Linked DNA regions of Homo sapiens: all the other regions are linked to region 3. The links are contacts of gene promoters, found by promoter capture Hi-C in blood cells and fetal thymus (Javierre and others, 2016). All regions are on one chromosome and are shown on one strand. The core of a region is centred on a gene start or on the middle of the fragment in contact, and the rest is flanking DNA. Distances in the headings are between cores, read along the strand shown.

Region 1 (2,700 bases), core at 180-2,679, 640 kb after region 3:
AAACCTCATCTCTACTAAAGATACAAAAATTAGCTGGGCATGGTGGCACGTGCCTGTAGTCCCAGCTACTTGGGAGGCTGAGGCAGGAGAATCACTTGAACCCAGGAGGCGGAGGTTGCAGTGAGCTGAGATCGCGCCATTGCACTCCAGCCTGCTGACAGAGCAAGACTCTGTCTCAAAAAAAAGAATGAAGAACTATCACAGATTAAAGGAGTCTAAGCAAACACAGTATCTGAATGCAAGGTAGAATCCTGGATTGGATCTGGAAACCGAGAAAAAAGACATTAGAGTAAAAGCTGGTGAAACTCCAGTAAGTCTGTAGTTTACTTAATAATTTTGGACAACATAAATATCCTGGTTTTGATGCTTGTACTACGGTCATGTAAGATGTTAACACTAGGAGAAGCTGATTGAATGGCTTATGGAAATGGGAACTCTTTAACTATTTCTGCAACTTTTCTACAAGTCTACAGTATTATTCCAAAATAAAAGTTTTTTATTTCTTTTTCTTAAAGAGTAAATCTAGACCCTGCTATGTAATAATAATGTTCCCTCAGGGTAATGTAAATGAACAATTGTCTGTTAATAGCTAACAGGCATAGCCAGGTCACAGTGGACTTCAGGAGGACCTTGGGAATGCATCTAAATGGTCTTAAGAGTTACCAAGGTCCAGGCCTACCCTCACTGGAGCACACAGTCATATGGTCATCACTCCATCATCCCTACTCTATGCTGTGAAGCAGCCAGGGCATCTCAATGTCAAAGAGAAATGTACAATTATTTCCTGAAGAACACCATTTTTATTTCAATGAATACTCTTCCTAGACTCTTCTAAGGCAGGTGGCTTCCACATTTTGAATTCCAATAAACACAAAAGTCTAATGACCACAGAACAACTCAGAAACAAAGCTAAGCACCATGTTTCTAAAGCCGTTCATCTACATTTGATTCAACTAACATCTGAATGTTGATGGGTGTCAGGTAGTCTGCTGGGACTGGGATACAGATTTTGGCCCCTGCCTCCCAAATGCCTCCAATAAAATGGAAAAGGGAAAAATCTAAAAGCTTGTGCTGAAAGTGAAAATGGAGGCCCTGAACACACCTTTGAAAGATAATGTTTGAAAAACATCAAACTACAATACTGGTTTATTCACATTTCACGTCTTCAGGCCTAAACATAAATAACTACATCTCGGCATTTAAGTTCTTCCCAGATTCTGAATGAAACCAACCAACATAGTTCATCCCCGGAATGACTGTATTAACCTAAGAAACTGGACTACATAGATGATCTACCAGGTTTTGTCCCAAGCACATCAATGATTCAGTTCCTGGGTTTCAGAAAAATACGCGTAGGTGATCTATTTTAGGTAAAGACAAGGCTTCAAATGAAACAGAACTAATTTGAAAATTTAACTGAATCACATCTTCAGGTGTTGCTGCTTATAAAACAGGTATAAAAGGCCATGAGGTTTTACATGTCATTTATCATCTCACCGACCCTGAACAATTTAGCTATCCTAGCCTGCTTCCTCATCTGTCGAGTGAGATACCAGATACCATCAACAACCTCAAATGACTGTTGTGAGGATGAAATGAATATCAATGTAAAGTATTTTGCATAGTTTCTAGTACTTACAAGGTATCATTAAACGATACTAATTTTTGCAATGAACAAGGCAATATCATGTCTTCAGTTATAATGTTTTCAAACGGGCTTGTCAGTACATGGGGGCTATAATGATGCACCCTCTGGTAACTCAGAATTAAGACTGCCCTGAGTCTGAAGCTTTAAAATACAGCATGGATTACAACAGTGAACTTCAGAGACAGGGAAGTAGAAGGGGAATGACAGGAAAGGAGAGAGGAAGAGAGCTATAGAGGAAAAGAGGGCAATCAATTGAGGAGAAAGGAGAGGAGGAAAGAAAAAGAGAGCTGTAGTGAGGCGTCTGCTTCCAGTATGGCAGAAGTAACTCTTAACAAATGGCTCCTCAGTTGCTCCAAGTGTCAGCCGTAAACTCTGGACAAACTACAACTACCTGAGCACTCTGGAAACTGAAGAAAAGCAGGTAGATTCTGGAAAGAAATGGAAAGTTAATTGAGCAAGCAACCCATATGGACTAAGTTTCCTGTTTCTTGGTAGCTTTCTCTGAAGGCAGCCTCACTGGGGCAGCTCTGGATAGCTAAACCCCTAGAGAAAATATGGCCATCTTTCTGGCTACAGGACTCAGCAATCAGGAAAAGGGGTCTTGGGGCAACCAGGATCTCCAAAGTGTGGTGGAGAACCTGAGAAAGAGGAGAGGTAGAGAAGCACCCCTCAATTTGTGCGCATCCACTCATCTCAAGTCTTCAACTAACCCTGGAACCATCTATGCTTATGACCGAGGCTTCGAGAACTGGACTGAGATTTCAGCTGCCACCCATGGCAGGTGGCACAGCTTGCAATTTAAGTCTAACCAAGTCAATTGCTGACTAAAACTCAGAGCAACACTCTAAAGCAATATAAGAAAATTCAAAGCTTCAAAAACATAATAGTAACCATATCCAGGATTCAGTCCAGAACTCCTCAACAGAAGAAGAGCCAGAAAAATTAGAACCCATTTCTCAAGGGAGCAAACAATCAATAGACGCCAACTCTTGAGATGACTCAGATACTGGAATTAACAGGCAAGGACTTGAACACAACTACCACAGTGATGC
Region 2 (2,700 bases), core at 151-2,650, 670 kb after region 3:
CTGCCACATATAACTGAGAAGTCAATGGACTGTACTGAATGAGTAATGAATAATCATTTAAAAAGAGCTAAGCTAAAGGGTTAATAACTGATCATTTTTTCCTTGAGTGAGCCTATGAATCAATAGGCCTTTTCTATGTTCTCTGTCCCCACCTCAGGAGGCTACAGGATCATACATGTAAATTTCTTGGAAGTCTTAATATTCTTTTTAATTATTACATGATGTCAATTTACAAACTCTCCTAGAAAATGCAGCAACCTTAAAATATCACCTTGACAATTTTATAACACTCTAAAAAAAATTAGAAACAATAGAAAGTATTATAAAAATGGATCTCAGGTGTTCAAATATAAATACTATGCATGTCACATTGTTCCGCGTTTTCTGTTTCTAGGGCAAGACATTTCCCCTCTCTGCCCCGTCTGCTGATCTGTAAACAGAAGAGATTAAGGTGATTTGCAATCTCTTCCATCCCTGAATATTTCTTGACTGAGCTGCTGAAACCAGCTACGTAGAATTACTGCAGAGACTCAGCCCTGAGACCTACCCTAGTGAGTCCTAGAGGCTTAACTCTGGCCAAATCAATCAGTACTTAAGGATTTATAATATACTTCTTGCACATCATGTGGTCTAAGTTTATTTTTCTCCCAAGCACCCATCCTTTGGCCAAACTTTTTAAAAAATTTTTCTGTTCTTCTGTTCTATTAAAGTAGAGCAGGAAGTGAAACAATATTCACGTTACTTTTTCTTGACAATATGGAAAAAAGGACATAAGAAAAGTCGTTGGCTACTAGCTAATAAAGAAGATGGTATTATTCAAAGTTTTACATCCATGAAAGGGGTCTACAACTTGTAAGTAATTAAAATTGAGCCAAAGTCATCCACTGGGTACGTATAGTCCCCTTCTTGCTTCCAAAATGCTGGAAAAGTTCACTGTGTCTAAAAGCCACAACAAACCACCCAGGTAATAGGCCTGGTCATCGTCTTCCAAGAATCATTTTAGACGTGACTGAATGGGGCTTGACATAACAGTGATAGAGAATAAGTCTAAGTGACTTTTCTTCCCCTCTGATGTAAAAGCTTGTCTCCAATAAAAGCAAGGAAACATATTTAAATAGAATGCAAGAGAATGTAATGTTCACGAAGTCGAGATTTGCAGAAATTTGGGGGTGATTCATGGGCATTACTCATGATTTCGAATGAATCATGTCATCATGTCACCTTGGATTGTGTAGCTATCAGGAACGGACCCTGAGATATTTGAAGAGGGGCCTGTGTAGCCTCTTCATTTACCTGCTTATGCCAAACTAATAATTCACATTCCTGTAGGGAATTTGTTTCACAGATGCCCTCCAACTGCTTTTTTGTCTTCAGGAGCTCCTGAAAGCACATCAAAAATAGACCTTCAGGGAAGAGGATTTTTAGGGCAGTGAAACTACTCTGGGTGATACTGTAATAGTGGATCCATGTCATGACACATTTGTCCAAACCCATAGAAGGCACACCACCAAGAGTGAACCCTGACGTCAACTACAATCTTTGAGTGACAATGATGTGCCAATGTAGGTTCAGGAATTGTAACAAATGTATACCACCCTCGTGTGGTATACTGATAATGGGGGAGGCTGTGCATGGGTAGGGATGGGGGAAAGGGGATATATTTGTACTTTCCTCTCAGTTTTGCTGTGAATGTAAAGTTGCTCTAAAAAATAAAGCTTCTGGCATGGTGGCTCACACCTACAATCCCAACACTTTTGGAGGCCGAGGTGGGAGAATCACTTGAGCCTAGGAGTTTGAGACCAGCCTGGACAACAGAGTGAGACCTCCTCTCTACAAAGAAAATTAAAAAAAAAAAAAAAATTAGCCAACTGGGGTGGTGTGCACACCTGTGGTCCTAGCTAATTAAGAGGCTGAGGTGGGAGGATCGCTTGAGCCCAGTAGGTCGAGGCTACAGTGAGCTGTGCTCATGCCACTGCACTTCAGCCTGGGCAACAGAGTGAGACCCTATCTCAAAATAAATAAATACATAAAAATAAAAAATAAAAGGATGTTTTTAGTACCCATTCAACTTAAATGAAATATCAATTTGCAGTTAATGTTTCCATCAACAGATGGCCTTGTCTCACACAAGCCTTTTACAGCCCACTTTTGTGGGTGGAAAAATACCAACCCCTCTATCTCACAGTTCCTGCCATCCAAGAATTCCATCTACATGGAAGAAGAGCATTTCCACAGACGTCTGAGACACAACCAGAGGTCTCAGAGGGAAACCCAAGGAAGCTCCTCAGCAGGTAGTGGGGTGTGGACTGGGTGCCAGGGGCCTACAGGTGAGCTGCCCTCCATACAGCTCCATGAGCTACACAGGCTAACACCAAGGTGCTCTTCCTACAGGATTTGTCCTGTCGGAAGACATGTTAGAGGAGTGCTGAGGGTAGGAGACAGCAACAAGACACAGGATGGTCTTGGTGACCTGCCTGGGAACCACCATCAGCCTCACACTGGTGCACTGAGAGCAAAGGGCATAAGGCAGGGGAAGGGCAGGAACCCGCATGGGGCACCCACCTCCTCTCACTGAGCTCAGAGCTGGACTCTTCACTATTTCCTTTTAATTTTTCTCTATTCATTTCTCTCTGCCACCAATTCTTTTTACCTAGATTACGGTTTTTACTCACCAAAAAAACTTTTTTCCTCACACAGATC
Region 3 (2,734 bases), core at 44-2,543:
AGAATACTAACATTTAAATTCACCATTTCTCATGTTTATCCACACACTCTAAATCTGGGTATCCCTCAGAGGATCCTGTAATTCCCCAAAGGAAGTCTGTCTTCTTTACTGCATCCTCAGTGGGTCTTTTCTTCCTTAGCTGCTGGCCTCAAGAGCATATAGCTGGTCTCTCAGCCCCCTGAATACCCTTCCTCTTCTCTTCTAATTTTTATGTATCCTAAGCAGCCACTGCAAAGCTGTTCTTTAAGACTGCTTAGCACAAGAAGTCTCCTGTGACTTATGCCTGCCTAATAGGTGAGGACAAGACAGGCAGGAAAGCCAGAGCATCCTATGAGAGAGGCCAGTGCCAGGGACTGGCACTTCTTGATTTCTTCACCTGGGCTTCATTAATTTTTATATCCTAGGACTTGAGCTTTGTCCTTGTGACTGTGTGTGCTTAGTGAAAACTGAGCAGTAAATCAGGCAATTGATATGAACCTCTCTGAGTCTGCCTTTGGTACCAGATCTATCGGCAAGAGCACCACATGAAGTCAAAACTTCCATCCTCCAAGACACTAAAATGAAATCCTCCCCAGCCAGGGGTCCATTCCAGGATGCATGTCCATACACGTGTACAGTCTGCAACCATCCACAGAACCACACTCATGATGAGGAGACAAAAGATGGGCCTCAAAAGGAGACCTCTGAGTGAGGATGCCAACTTTCCTTTCTGCATTCCTTGGTTCCTTCAGCAACAAAGATTAGTCTTGGCATCACTGCCTGCTTGGCGACCAGAACAAAGAGAAATAAGGAAAATTAGGGACACAGGAAAACCTATGGGCACACATAGATATGGAAACTCAGAGATAATAGAAACTTAAAGAGATACATGGAGAGTGAATATTCTGCCTCCCTATAGAGCCTTTTCCATCATCCATCCACCCAAGCAATGCTGACCTGAGTGCCTATTTATCAGGCACTGGTCTTGGCCTTGGGGATAAACAAAGATGGAGGTGAAAGTCTAAAAGCAGACACTGGAGGTGGGAAGAGCAGTTGACGTGGCCCTAACAGGGTTCCCACCACGGCGGAACGCACAGACAGGGGACGTGGGGGAAGACGTGACCCTAAAAGGGTTCCCGCCACGGCGGAACGCACAGCCAGAGAACGTGGGGGAATTCATGAAGCGAACCTCCTGCTACCTCAACGCCGGTGAAGGTGAAGGAGACACCTGCGCGTCATAGAGACTCCGAGACCTCCAGGCTTCCTAGAGAGGCCCGGAAGTGGCTCCAGGAGGCAGGTCCGACGGCTTCGGCGCCCCAGCTGTGGTGATGGGTAGCTAGGAGGCCTGGGCCTCTCTGCCTGCTGTAGCCGTCTGCCGCGCCCTTGTTCCTGCAGCTGTGAGTGGGCCTGGGCTGGGGTTGGGGGGCCGCCGCCCTTCCGCGGGGACCCTGGACCGCCTCGGCCTGGAACGCGACAGGTGGCGGTCCCGGGGGTGGGGGACGGTGGTGAATGACTGAGCAGGGTGGCGGGAAGGAGTATCCCCTTTCAGATGTCTTCCTGATCCCAGGGGACCGGGCGCAGCTTGGCTTTCTAGAATGTCGCCAAGGCCTCAAACACTGGCCCTCCGCATTTTTTGTTTTTAAGGACATCGGGGCCCCAAGCTCCGAACTTTCCACAGGTGGCTGGCTATACTTGATTCCTGTCTTTGATTTTCTGCACACTTTGGGAGAACGATTACCTCCTCTTTATCACTTGGTTCTGGTTTGCCACTTAAAAGTGGCAGTGACAGGTTCCCATTTAAACTGCATGTATTTGTTGGGAAAAGGTAAGTAGGTTTAAACAAAACCTTATAGGCTAGTCATAATACCAGATGAATCAGATGTGACAGAAATTGTGGAGGTGGAGTGAGCCCTGAAAATCTGAGACGGGTCTCAGTTCATTTAGAAAGTTTATTTTGCCAAGGTTGAAGACATGTACCCATGACACAGCCTCAGGCGGTCCTGACGATGTATTCTTAATGTGGTCAGAGCCCAGTTTCGTTTTCTACATTTTAGGGAGACATGAGACAAGAACAGATGTAAGATGAACATGTTTTTCGGTCTGGAAAGGCGGGACAACTCGAAACGGGGAGGGGGCTTCCAGGTCATAGGTAGGTAAGAGACAAATGGTTGCATTATTTTGAGTTTGATTAGCCTCTCCAAAGGAAGCAATCAGATATGCCTTTATTTTAGTGAGCAGAGATACATGAATAGAATGGGAGGCAGGTTTGCCCTAAGCAGTTCTCAGCTTGACTTTTCCCTTTAGCTTAGTGATCTTGGGACCCCAAGATTTATTTTCCTTTCACAGTGATAAGATAATGACCTAAGCGAATCTGTATTGTCCCAGCCTTATTGTGCGGCATTACATGTAGTGGTTAAGAGTCATACAGACCCGGCTTCAAGTCCTGAACCCTGCCCAACCCCTTATGACCTGCATAATTTGTGGGCAAGGTTCCTAACCTCTGATCTATTTTCCTCATTTCTGAAAGCTGATGATAATACTAGTAACAACTTCGGAAGATTGTCCTGAGGCTTAAATGCTAAACCTTTAAACTACCTGTATTAATCCATTCTCATGCTGCTAATAAAAACATACCCAAGACTGGGTAATTTATAAAGTTAAGAGGTTTGATGGACTCACAGTTCCACATGGCTGGGGAAGCCTCATAATCATGCCAGAAGGCAAAAGAGGAGCAAAGTCACATCTTACGTCTTAT

The links. The method cuts DNA at HindIII sites, captures the fragments that hold promoters and counts their contacts. A CHiCAGO score of 5 or more calls a contact.
Region 1: a fragment that was not itself captured here is called in contact with the fragment with the promoter of SDR42E1 in region 3 in 1 of 17 cell types (total B cells); the score reaches 5.1 in total B cells.
Region 2: a fragment that was not itself captured here is called in contact with the fragment with the promoter of SDR42E1 in region 3 in 1 of 17 cell types (naive B cells); the score reaches 8.1 in naive B cells.

Annotation. Positions count from the first base shown.
Region 1 is chr16:81,371,239-81,373,938 of GRCh38, reverse strand. The region is part of intron 9 of GAN (gigaxonin); the gene reads right to left. Among named protein-coding and RNA genes, the nearest start is that of MIR4720, 12 kb to the left of the region's middle. The HindIII fragment of the contact is 724 bases long and covers 1,068-1,791 here.
Region 2 is chr16:81,335,793-81,338,492 of GRCh38, reverse strand. The region is part of intron 1 of GAN (gigaxonin); the gene reads right to left. Among named protein-coding and RNA genes, the nearest start is that of GAN, 22 kb to the right of the region's middle. The HindIII fragment of the contact is 635 bases long and covers 1,083-1,717 here.
Region 3 is chr16:82,010,029-82,012,762 of GRCh38, reverse strand. SDR42E1 (short chain dehydrogenase/reductase family 42E, member 1) reads left to right here and starts at 1,293. Exons shown (of 3, transcript NM_145168.3): 1 at 1,293-1,376. RefSeq lists enhancers at 949-1,028, 1,039-1,128 and a silencer at 1,369-1,518. The HindIII fragment of the contact is 9,437 bases long and covers 1-2,734 here.